Regions from separate parts of the Homo sapiens genome. Here region 1 is linked to region 2. Evidence: promoter capture Hi-C in human tissues and cell types (Jung and others, 2019). All regions are on one chromosome and are shown on one strand. The core of a region is centred on a gene start or on the middle of the fragment in contact, and the rest is flanking DNA. Distances in the headings are between cores, read along the strand shown.

What was found. Contacts are between HindIII fragments. The study calls those that stand out against the background at their distance.
Region 1: the fragment with the promoter of DOK3 here is called in contact with the fragment with the promoter of NHP2 in region 2 in 1 of the 25 tissues and cell types used here (lymphoblastoid cells).

What each region holds. Positions count from the first base shown.
Region 1 is chr5:177,505,559-177,511,397 of GRCh38, reverse strand. It overlaps DOK3 (docking protein 3), which reads left to right and starts at 1,572. Exons shown (of 6, transcript NM_001308236.3): 1 at 1,572-1,640; 2 at 1,741-1,923; 3 at 2,856-3,161. The coding sequence starts at 1,858. RefSeq lists enhancers at 1,167-1,316, 3,137-3,186, 3,207-3,316 and a silencer at 1,447-1,586. The HindIII fragment of the contact is 13,536 bases long and covers 1-5,839 here.
Region 2 is chr5:178,151,439-178,157,051 of GRCh38, reverse strand. It overlaps NHP2 (NHP2 ribonucleoprotein), which reads left to right and starts at 3,167. Exons shown (of 4, transcript NM_017838.4): 1 at 3,167-3,394; 2 at 3,492-3,561. The coding sequence starts at 3,235. RefSeq lists an enhancer at 5,599-5,613. The HindIII fragment of the contact is 35,391 bases long and covers 1-5,613 here.

The DNA.
Region 1 (5,839 bases), core at 323-2,822, 640 kb after region 2:
GACTCTGGGTCTCTCCACTGGGTTGTCTGAATTTATGACTCAAGGAGGGACCACATTGGCGGGCCAAGGAGAAGTGCTTGGATTCTCTGGTCTCCCTGGCCAGCTGTCATAGCTCTCAGGCCCACTCTTCCTGTCAGGGCTGTGATGTTTCAGGGACTTCTCCTGAAGCCCCTTGGGAGGCTGCTTCTTGCCTCAGGACCCCCACCCACTGCCTGCCTGTGCCAGCCACCTGGAGGGAGCCCTCCATTCCGTTGACTGAGGAGGCAGCAGATGTCATAGAACTGCCATTTAGGCCACAAGCTCTCCCTAAGCCTGCTCTGTGCCCAGCTCTGCTGAGCTGTGAGGACCTAGATGGGCCAGGGAGATGGCTGCCTGGGAAGCCGTCAGGCGAGGGGAGAGAAAGACGCACACGCAGAAACGTGGACGGCAGTCACAAGACCGCTAGCAGATGAGGCAGGATCTCAGCATCTGGTGAGAGGTAGGCAGGGACGGCACAGGCGGCCACACTTCCTCTGAGCCAGGCACTTTGCATGTATGGCCACATGCTCATTCCAGTGAGACAGCGGTTGCTCAAGCCATATTTGTCACTTGATATGTGGCATTGGGCAAGTTACTTAATTTTTCTGAGCACCGATTTCCTCACTGTTGAAATGGCGATGAGAACGCAAAGGATGTGGCGTCTGAGGTGGACGGAGCTTAGGGCTGCTTGGGCCACAGTGGGCACAGAGCTGGGTGCCAGGAGGCCTTCAGGACATATTTCCTGGCCAAGTGCATTCCCAAATGGCATTCCTTATCCTCTTCCATGTTCTCTCCCAGAGGTGGTGCTGAATGACCTGAGGCTGTTCCAGAATAAAGGTATACACACAGCCCCGCTATTGGCATCTTGCTAGGCAAGCCAACAAAAGGCGCCCCCAGCAGGAAGCAAAGCTTTAAATGAACATGTGACCTCTCCGGGGCCCCCTGGGACCTGCCACCCACACTCACGTGGTTGGGGCCATTCAGGGCTGTGGGTCCCATGTGGACTGGATGCCCAGCGTGAGTGTATACCGTGAGGGCCTTTGAGCTCTCGGACAGCGTGGAGTGGTCAAGGGAGGCCTCCAGGAGGAAGAGGTGGCCAACCGCCCCAGGCAGCACAGTGGTGAGGGGGCCCTGGAGGGGCTGGCCTGGGGGAGATGCAGGCCAGAACACACAGGTCCCTGAGTGTTGGGCTGAGGAGCCTGGGCTGCACCCCAGGAAGGGGAGAGACAGGTTGGTCTTGGGTTGTGGAGAGTGCTGCATGGAGGCCCAGTGGGGCAGTGGCCCCTGGGGGGATGCCAAAGGCTGGTGATGTTCAGTGGCTCGTGAGGTGGAGAGGAGCAGGTGAACACGAGAGAGATTTCAGGGAGAAAGAAAAGCAGCAAGATGGGGTGAGGCGCTCAAACCAGGACGCCGAGTGGGAAAGCCAGGAGTTGGCTAGAGAAGGGTCCTGGGTGGAGGCAGGGCCAGGGAGTGTCAGGCCCAGGGTGCGCAGCTGCCCGGGGCGGGACGGGGGAGGGGCGGGAACTCATGACTCGGGGAGCCAGACTGCGATCAGACGCGCGTGCCCAGCTGAACCAGGTGCGTGAGAAGGCTGCCTTCAGGTGGCCGGGGGCTCCCTCCAGGTAGGTGTGGGCACCTTGGGCAGCCAGAACCCCAGGGAGGAAATACATGCTGCCCCCAGCCCCTGAGCTGAAGACAGGCTCCCCTCCCCCCGGCCTGCAGCTGTCTCTAGACGGAGGGACGGGAAGTGGCCAGAAGGGGAAGTGTGAGGAGTTCCCGTCCAGCCTGTCATCAGTCTCCCCAGGTCTTGAAGCGGCGGCCCTGCTCCTGGCCGTGACCATGGACCCTCTGGAGACCCCTATCAAGGATGGCATCCTCTACCAGCAGCATGTCAAGTTTGGCAAGGTGGGGACCCCTGGCTGCCAGGCAGCTGCCAAGGACCAACAGTGGGTGGAGAATGCAGCCTCTGCCCCTGCCTCGGACAGCCCAGGCAGACCTGGGAGACTTGGGAAGGGAGTCAGGGTGGAGGATCCCACCCAGGTATGGGGAGTGGAATGGAGTGCGGGTGTCAGCCTGAGACGGCAGGGGCTGAGCAGGCTCTGCCAGACCCTGCCTCCGGGAGAGATGGGAAATACAGGAGTGGGAGAGGGTCGAAGGCTCAAACCTCCCAGCAGGGAAGAGCTTCACAGCCTCTGACCCATGAAATAGTGCCACCGAGGGCCCTAAATAGGGTGAGGGGCTGAGCTGGAGGAGGCCTCAAGGGTGGAGCCCCTCCCTGCAGCGGCACTGTCCTGGGAGCAAGGAGGCAGGGGGTCACCTCTCCTCGGCAGCAGCCCCACACCCCCGCAGCTCAGCTGCAGCTGCTGCCCAGGCAGATAAACCGTCAGTTTCCTTTGCTCGAAGCTATTTGCATGTTTCCTTCCTTAACAGCTTGAGGCAGAGGCCTCCCTCCCACCCCAGCTCTTGGCCTGTGGCCCAAGTGCCCCTTTTTGGGGGTGAGAGGGAACCAATATAATGGCAGTGTCTGGTGGTCTGCCCGGCCACTGGATGCTTTACAAACATGACCCAGTAGCAGTCCCAGCTCGAGTTCTCATGGCCTTTTGAGAGACGACATTGATGCTTGTGGAGGTCACAGTTAGGAAAGAGCGGGCTGGGATTTGAACCCAGGGCTGACCAATCCCAAGCATAGCCAAGGCCTCCTTACCTGGCTCCCTGAGAAACTGGGGAGCAGAGGCCCGCTCCTGGCTGGGAGCGTTTGCCGAGCAGCTTGTGCTGAGCCAAGTGGCACGGACAATCTGCCACCCAAGGGTCTTCACCCTCCCGCTCCCCTCCCGCAGAAGTGCTGGCGGAAGGTGTGGGCTCTGCTGTATGCAGGAGGCCCATCAGGCGTGGCACGGCTGGAGAGCTGGGAGGTCCGGGATGGTGGCCTGGGAGCAGCGGGTGACAGGTCGGCAGGGCCTGGCCGGCGAGGGGAGCGACGGGTCATCCGCCTGGCTGACTGTGTGTCCGTGCTGCCGGCTGACGGCGAGAGCTGCCCCCGGGACACCGGTGCCTTCCTGCTCACCACCACCGAGCGAAGCCATCTACTGGCTGCTCAGCACCGCCAGGCCTGGATGGGCCCCATCTGCCAGCTGGCCTTCCCGGTGAGTGCGGCGAGCAGGGGGGCGATTGGGCTGGGGCACCTGCCCCCGACTTGTCCACCTCCACGCTCACATCCCATCACCCAGCAAGCTCCACCGAGCACCTACAAGCCTGGGAAAAGTAAATCTATAATGACTCTCAGAGGGCCGTGCGTGCCATGGAGAAAATGGACCGCCAGGGGAGCAGGAGGAAGTGAGGGAGCGACGGGCAGGGTGGCCAGGGAAGGCCTCTCAGAGGAGGGCCCTGAATGACAGGAACCCACTGGGCAAAGGTCTGAGGACAGGGGCAGCCTGGGGAGTTGTGAACAGAGGGAGTCCCGTGGGCAGAGGCCCCGAGGCCGGACAGTGTGGGGTGTTTAAGGGCAGAAAGAAGGCGACGTGGCTGGAAGGAAAGGAGTGCAGGAGGAAGCCAACTCACAGAGCTTAGGAGAGCGGCTGAAATGCCCTAGGCCATGTGTGTGGTTTTGTTCTGAGTGAGAGGCGAAGGCTTTGGAGGGTTTAAGCCGGACATGTTTGTAAAGCCCCAAAAGGTCTGTGATGGGTCAAAAGGAAGTGAGCCTGGGGGTTCTTCAAAGAGGTAAACAGAGTTACCATGTGGCCCACAGGTCCACTCCTAGGTGTGTGCCCAAGAGAACTTGAACAGGTGTTCAAACAAAACATGTACATGTGAGGCAGGAGGATCGCATGAGCCCCAGAGGTCGAGGCTGCAGTGAGCTGTAATCGTGCCACTTCACTCCAGCCCGGGAGACAGAGCAAGACCCTATCTTAAAAAAAAACCCACATGGACATGAACGTCCATAGCAGCACTACTCACAGCCACCAGAAGGTGGAAACAGCCTACATGGCCATCAGCTGACAAATGGATAAGCAAAACGTGGTCCGTCCGCAAGATGGAATACTACTCAGCCATAAAAACAAACAAACGCCTGGCACAGTAGCTCTTGCCTGTAATCTTAGCACTTTGGGAGGCTGAGGTAGGAGGATTGCTTGAGCCTAGGAATTCAAGATCAGCCTGGGCAACATAGTGAGACCCTGTCTCAAAAAAAAAAAAGAAAAGAAGAAAGAAAGAAATGTACAGACAAGGTAACTCCATTGGGATAGAAATCAGATGAGTGTTGGCAGGAGCTGGAGGAAGGGAGAAGTGGGGAGTGGCTGCTCATGGGTACAGGGCTTCCATGTGGGATGATGGAAAAGTTCTGGAACTAGACAGTGGCAACAGTGCACAGCCTTGTGAGTATACTAAAAAGCACTGGTGGCCGGGTGCGGTGGCTCAGGCCTATAATCCCAGCACTTTGGGAGGCCGAGGCGGGCGGATCACCTGAGGTCAGAAGTTCGAGACCAGCCTCAACATGGAGAAACCCCGTCTCTACTAAAAATACAGAAGTAGCTGGGCATGGTGGTGCATGCCTGTAATGCCAGCTACTCGGGAGGCTGAGGCAGGCAGAATTGCTTGAACCTGGGAGGCAGAGGTTGCGGTGAGCCGAGATCATGCCATTGCACTCCAGCCTGGGCAACGAGAGCAAAACTCCGTCTCAAAAAAAAAAAAAAAAAAAAGAAAAGAAAAAAAAGAGCACTGATGATACACTTTAAGATGTAAAATGGGCCGGGCGTAGTGGTTCACACCTGTAATCCCAGCACTTTGGGAGGCCGAGGCAGGCGGATTACCTGAGGTCAGGAGTTCGAGACCAGCCTGGCCAACATGGTGAAACCCTATCTCTACTAAAAAAAAATTACAAAAATTAGCTGGGTGTGGTGGCACACGCCTGTAATCCCAGCTACTACTTGAGAGGCTGAGGCAGCAGAATTGCTTGAGTCTGGGAGGCAGAGGTTGCAGTGAGCTTAGATCGCACCACTGCATTCCAGCCTGGCCGACAGAGCAAGACTTTGTCTCAAAAAAAAAAAAAAAAGTAAGATGGTTAAAACAGTAAATTTTATGTTCTCTGTATTTTATCATATTTTAAAAATCAAAAAACAAAAGGCAGTTGAGGTTAGGCATGGAGGTTCGTGCCTGTAATCCCAGCACTTTGGGAAGCCGAAGCACGTGGATCACCTGAGGTCAGGAGTTCGAGACCAGCCTGCCCAATATGGTAAAACCCTGTCTCTACTAAAAATACAAAAAATTAGCCAGGCATGGTGGTGGGCACCTGTAATCCCAGCTACTTGGGAGACTGAGGCAGGAGAATCACTTAAACCCGGGAGGCGGGCTGGGCGCGGTGGCTCATGCCTGTAATCCCAGCACTTTGGGAGGCCGAGACAGGCGGATCATGAGGTCAGGAGATCGAGATCATCCTGGCTAACATGGTGAAACCCCATCTCTACTAAAAATACAAAAAAAATTAGCCAGGCCTGGTGGCGGGCACCTGTAGTCCCAGCTACTTGGGAGGCTGAGGCAGGAGAATGGCGTGAACCTGGGAGGCGGAGCTTGCAGTGAGCCAAGATCGCGCCACTGCACTCCAGCCTGGGCGACAAGAGTGAGACTCCATCTTAAAGAAAAAAAACAAACCCGGGAGGCGGAAATTGCAGTCAGCCGAGATCTCGCCATTGCACTCAAGTATGGGTGACAGAGCAAGACTCCATGTCAAAAAAAAAGGCAGTTGACAGGAGCAAGGAGCCTGGTGAGGAAGCTGTGGCATTTGACCCGGCTGTGTTGCTATGGGCCAGGGTGGTGCTAGTAGAGGAGC
Region 2 (5,613 bases), core at 1,918-4,417:
ATTAGCTGGGTGCAGTGGCAGGCGTCTGTAATCCCAGCTACTCGGGAGGCTGAGGCAGGAGAATCGCTTGAACCCGGGTGGTGGAGGTTGTGGTGAGCCAAGATCGTGCCACTGCACTCCAGCCTGGGCGACAGAGTGAGACTCTGTCTCAAACAAACAAACAAACCAACAAAAATTAGCTAGGTGTAGTGGCAGGCACCAGTAGTCCCAGCTACTCGGGAGGCTGAGGCAGGAGAATGGCGTGATTCCAGGAGGCAGAGCTTGCAGTGAGCCAAGATGGGGCCACTATACTCCAGCCTGGGTGACAGAGCGAGACTCCGTCTCAAAAAAAAAAAAAGATAAGAAATACACAGTGTGTTAACAACAAAAAAAGAAAACAGGCCAGGTGCGGTGGCTTACATCTGTAATCCCAACACTTTGGGAGGCCAAGGCGAGTGGATCACTTGAGGTCAGGAGTTCGAGGCCAGCCTGGCCAACATGGTAAAACCCTATCTCTCCTAAAAGTACAAAAATTAGCTGGGCATGGTGGCGGGTGCCTGTAATCCCAGCTACTTGGGAGGCTGAGGCAGTAGGATCACTTGAATCTGGGAGGCAGATATTGCAGTGAGCTGAGATCATGCCACAGCCTGGGTGACAAAGGGAGACTCTGTCTTAAAAAAAAAAGGGGGCCGGGCGCGGTGGCTCATGCCTGTAATCCCAGCACTTTGGGAGGCCGAGGCGGGCAGAACATGAGGTCAGGAGATCGAGACCATCCTGGCTAACACGGTGAAACCCTAGTGAAACCCCGTCTCTACTAAAAATACAAAAAATTAGCCGGATGTGGTGGTGGGCACCTGTAGTCCCAGCTACTTGGCAGGCTGAGGCAGGAGAATGGCGTGAACCTGGGAGGCGGAGCTTGCAGTGAGCCGAGATGGTGCCACTGCACTCCAGCCTGGGCCAAAGTGCGAGACTCCATCTCAAAAAAAAAAAAAAGAAAAAAAAAGAAAAAGAAAACACTGTGGTTTTCTGAAGACATATTTGTTCTCAGCACTTCATTGTCTTATGGCTCAAAATGCAGACACGTGTGACCTGGGCCAAGCTGAGGTTCCTACACTTTCACTATTTACGTATCCTTTTGAGCTGAAGTCAAATGTCAAATCACAGGTATGGGTAAAGTCTGGGCTTGGAGACAAGTGGACCTGGGTTCAAATCCAGCTTTGTGTGAGCTGTACCAAACTATTCATCTTTATGTGTGTCAGTAAATTGTGAATATAAAGTTATATATTCCTGGTAAAAGGATGGTAAAGTCTTTACCTTTACCATAGAGGTATTTTTTGGTGAGCACTGAATGAGATATTGTATATAATATGCTCGCCACATAAATGTTAACTTTCTTTTTCCTTCCATGTAAGAGCTGAAGGGACTTCACAACCGAGGCTCTGAGTGAGGTCAGTCAAGCGAGCCCATTTGTTTGAATTTGTTTGAACTGGGTTCTCAGGAGTGAAATTCTCCATCACTCTGCTGGACAGAGTGATTTTTAGTAGAGACGGGGGTTTCACCGTGTTAGCCAGGATGGTCTCGATCTCCTGACCTCATGATCTGCCCGCCTCGGCCTCCCAAAGTGCTGGGATTACAGGCACCGCGCCCAGCCTATTTGTTTTTATTTAATGCAAAACAAAATTTATTGCACTTTAGTTCAGAGTTACAAGGTTTTTGTTGTTGTTGTTTTGTTTTAGAGACAAGATTTTCCTGGGTGGCCCAGACTGGAGTGCAGTGGCTATTCACAGGTGCAGTCATGGCTCACTGAAGCCTCTAACTTCTGGGCTCAAGCGAGCCCCCTCTCAGCCTCCCGGGTAGCTGGAACCACAGGCACGAGTCACCACACCCGGGAAAGGCCAATTTTTAAGTTGGTTTAACTGACCTGTGTTCCCACCCACAACTACCGGAACACTTCTAAGTTTCTACTTACTGGCCTGTTCCAGCAACACAAAAATGGCAGGCCTGCCACATCAGGATCAAAGGTAATTAGTATTACAAATTAGTAATTTGCAGCGATTATCTAATTAATATCCATCCAGAGTTCCAAAATATAGTGGAAGAGGCTAATCAGAGATACCAAGATCCACTGGATCTCGGCCTGCCACCGCCCCCCACGCCCTGGCAGCTCTGTCCCTTTACCTTCTACAGACCCGTCCAAAGGGTAGCTCCTCATAGCTCTCACCCTGCACGGCAGGGAGCTCAGTCCCCAAAGCCTTCCCTCCGCTGTTCCCGGCTTCGCTGGAGCCGTCCTTCCCTCAGCCCCGGCTGGCTTCTCGGCTAGGCCCTCTGCATGTGTAGCGTCAGGCAATGGTAAGAACTGCGGGAAAATAGCGGGTGAAGGGATGCTGGTTTGGAGAGAGAGGGGACGGCAATTTTAGATAAAATCACCAGGGAAACCTCTCCCATGGGAAACACTGAAACGGAACCCTGCGGGATGAGAGTGAGCCACACGCTATCTGTGGAAAAGCGGTGCAGACGCAGGTCAGTGGGGTCATCCCTTGCTCTGTATCTTTCACACCTGCGCAGCCGGGTCCAGGGGTCAGAAAACAAAGAAAAATTATGCAAGAAAGGAGGCAGCCTTAGGCCGGGCGCGGTGGCTCACGCCTGTAATCCCAGCACTTTGGGAGGCCGAGGCGGGCGGATCGCCTGAGGTCAGGAGTTCAAGACCAGCCTGACCAACATGGAGAACCCCTGTCTCTAGTAAAAATACAAAATTATCTGGGCGTGGTGGCGCATGCCTGCAATCCCAGCTACTCGGGAGGCTGAAGTAGGAGAATCGCTTGAACCCGGGAGGCGGAGGTTGCAGTGAGTCGAGATTGCGCCACTGTACCCCAGCCTGGGCAATAAGAGCGAAACTCTGCCTCAAAAAAGAAAAAAAACGAGGCAGCCTTTCCAGCACCCAGAGCCCCGCCCTCTCCGGCCCCGATTCCCAGGGCTCCGCCCCTTGCCTCACATTCCCTCCGCTCCGCCCTAATCGGTTCCGCCCAGTCCCTTGGTCCGGGGATGGCCCCGCCTTAAGGACCATGACTCCGCCCCTCTCCGCTCTCCGTAGTTACGAAGCTGGGCGTCAACGATTGGGCTGAGTCGGAGACTTCCTTTCCTGATTGGCCGTGTTGTACGGCGGCTTCTCGCGCAGCTGATGACCTGGAAGTGATGCCTAAAGCTGTGGACCGCGTGGGCTCGCCTCCCTGGGACTAGGTTTCAGCGGCCGCTGCGATGACCAAAATAAAGGCAGATCCCGACGGGCCCGAGGCTCAGGCGGAGGCGTGTTCCGGGGAGCGCACCTACCAGGAGCTGCTGGTCAACCAGAACCCCATCGCGCAGCCCCTGGCTTCTCGCCGCCTCACGCGGAAGCTCTACAAATGCATCAAGAAAGGTGAGGCGGACGGCGGCGTGGCCGGGATGGGTGCGCGGGTGGGATGGGTGCGCGGGTGGCTGAGCGAGGCCCCCGACCGACTCTTCTGTCGTTGCAGCGGTGAAGCAGAAGCAGATTCGGCGCGGGGTGAAAGAGGTTCAGAAATTTGTCAACAAAGGAGAAAAAGGGTAAGAACCTTCCTTCCTCTGGATTTTGCATTTCTAAACGTTAACGGAGAAATCTCTACTTAGTAGGCGCGCAGTAAAAAGGTTAACTCTGACCTAGCCCCATATACAGAAGCCAATCAAGCAGTCGGTAAAGTCCCTTTGGTACAATACCGGTACGACAATACCGGTACACCACGTATACCAGCTCAAAGTGAATTCCAAAGTGAAGCGAATTGTGTAAGCAAAGTCCCTTAGAGTAAACCCACCTTCATTAATTCAGGGACCCTCCTCCCCGGGCTCCGCTCCTTGCCTCAGATTACCTCCGGCCCCCGCCCTAATCCTCTCAGCCCTGAATCTCAGTCCTAGGGATGACCCCTCTCCGGCTCTGTATTTAAGGAACTGAACGTTAACGTTTTTGTTTGTTTTTGAGATGGGTCTAGCTCTCACCCAGGTTGGAGTGCGGTGGTGCGATCACAGCTCGCTGCAGCCTCGTCCCCCTGGGCTCAAGCGATCCTCCCACCTCAGCCTCCCGAATAGCTGAGACCACCGGCTTGCGCCACGCCTGGCTGTTGTTATTGTTGTTTTGCAGAGACAGAGGAGTCTCGCCATGTTGCCCGGGCTGGTCTTGAACTCCTGGGCTCAAGGAATCCTCCTGCCTCAGCCTCCCGAAGCGTTGGGATTACAGGCATGAGCCACCGCGCCTGGCAGCCTTAACAATTGAATGTACTCTTTTTCAGGCACTGTGTTATGGGGGAAACAGTGACATTCATTCATCAGATAATGACACACACACAACTAATTACACGTTGTGATAGATAGCCATGAAGGAAAATAACAGAGTGCAATGATAACTTCATCACCCCACTTTTCTTAATGGCATTTATCAAAGTTTGAACCTTGTTTACATTTTTCTTCCCTTTATCACCCTCTCAGGCCAGATGGTAAGCTCCTTCAGAACAGGGCCTCCTTGCTTTATCCCAAGAAGTGAAACTGTAGGTGCTCAAGAGATCAATAATGTTGGGCAGACTTGATGCTCAACGGCATCTAACCTAGCTGGGGAGGGCGCATCTGGGGAAGTTTCCCTCAGCAGTCACATTTGAGCTGAGGTCTTAAGACACAGGGATTAATTGGGGGGTGGGTGGGAGGATTCTGCCAGAAGAAAGAGTGGGCCTCTGGGCAGGAGAGGGTCTGGTGAGCAGAAGTGCTACCTTCTTAGGGGGCCTTGTAGGACACAGTAAATTTAGTTTTTATACTCAGCACTTTGGAGGCTATTAGGGGTTAAAGCCAGGAAGTGACATAATTTTTATTATTTTTTACACCCTAAGATTTTTCTGACAATTGAAGAAAGGATTAGAGAGGTACGAGTAGGTTTGGGAAAGTTCAGGTAGTAGACTACTGTAGTCCTGGAGAGGTGATGGTGGAGACAGAGTTAAAGGGGACAGATTTGAAAGGACTTTCAGATGTGGAGAATGGGGAGGTATTGACGACTTCTAGGTTCTGACATGCCCAGCTGGAGGGACAGAGGGCCCAATCTTGAGATGTGAACAGTGGAGGGGGACCAGATTTGTGTAGAAAGATCACAAATTTGGGTCTGGGTAAGTTTTTGAGGTGCTGTAGAGACACATGACTTCCACCCCGCCCCACACCAGGAGAACTGTCAAACAGGCAGATGGCTATAGGGGTTTGGAGCATGGAAGAGAGAGGGCCAGGCTGGAGATAGTACATCTGGGAGTTTTCAGCACATAGATGGCACCTGACCCCATGGCAGTGGCTCCGGTCAGCCAGGAAGAAGGTCCTGAGAGGAGAGGGCAGCCGAGGACAAGGCTGTGAGGAACACTCACAGTGAAAGGCGCTTAACAGAAGGGGAGCCAGCAGAGGGCCCAGAGGAGCACTAGGAGTGCGGAAGCATTCTTTCAGCCGAGGGCTCTGTCCTTGTGTGTCCGCCTGTTATCCAGCATGGGAGAGCAGACTTTTCCTTCTGTGTCTTAGGCTCCTGAGGCCCTTGCCCCCCAGCCTTGACACCTGGCCAGCTAGGAACCCTGGCTGAGTCTCTGGCAAGCTTTCATTGCCTCA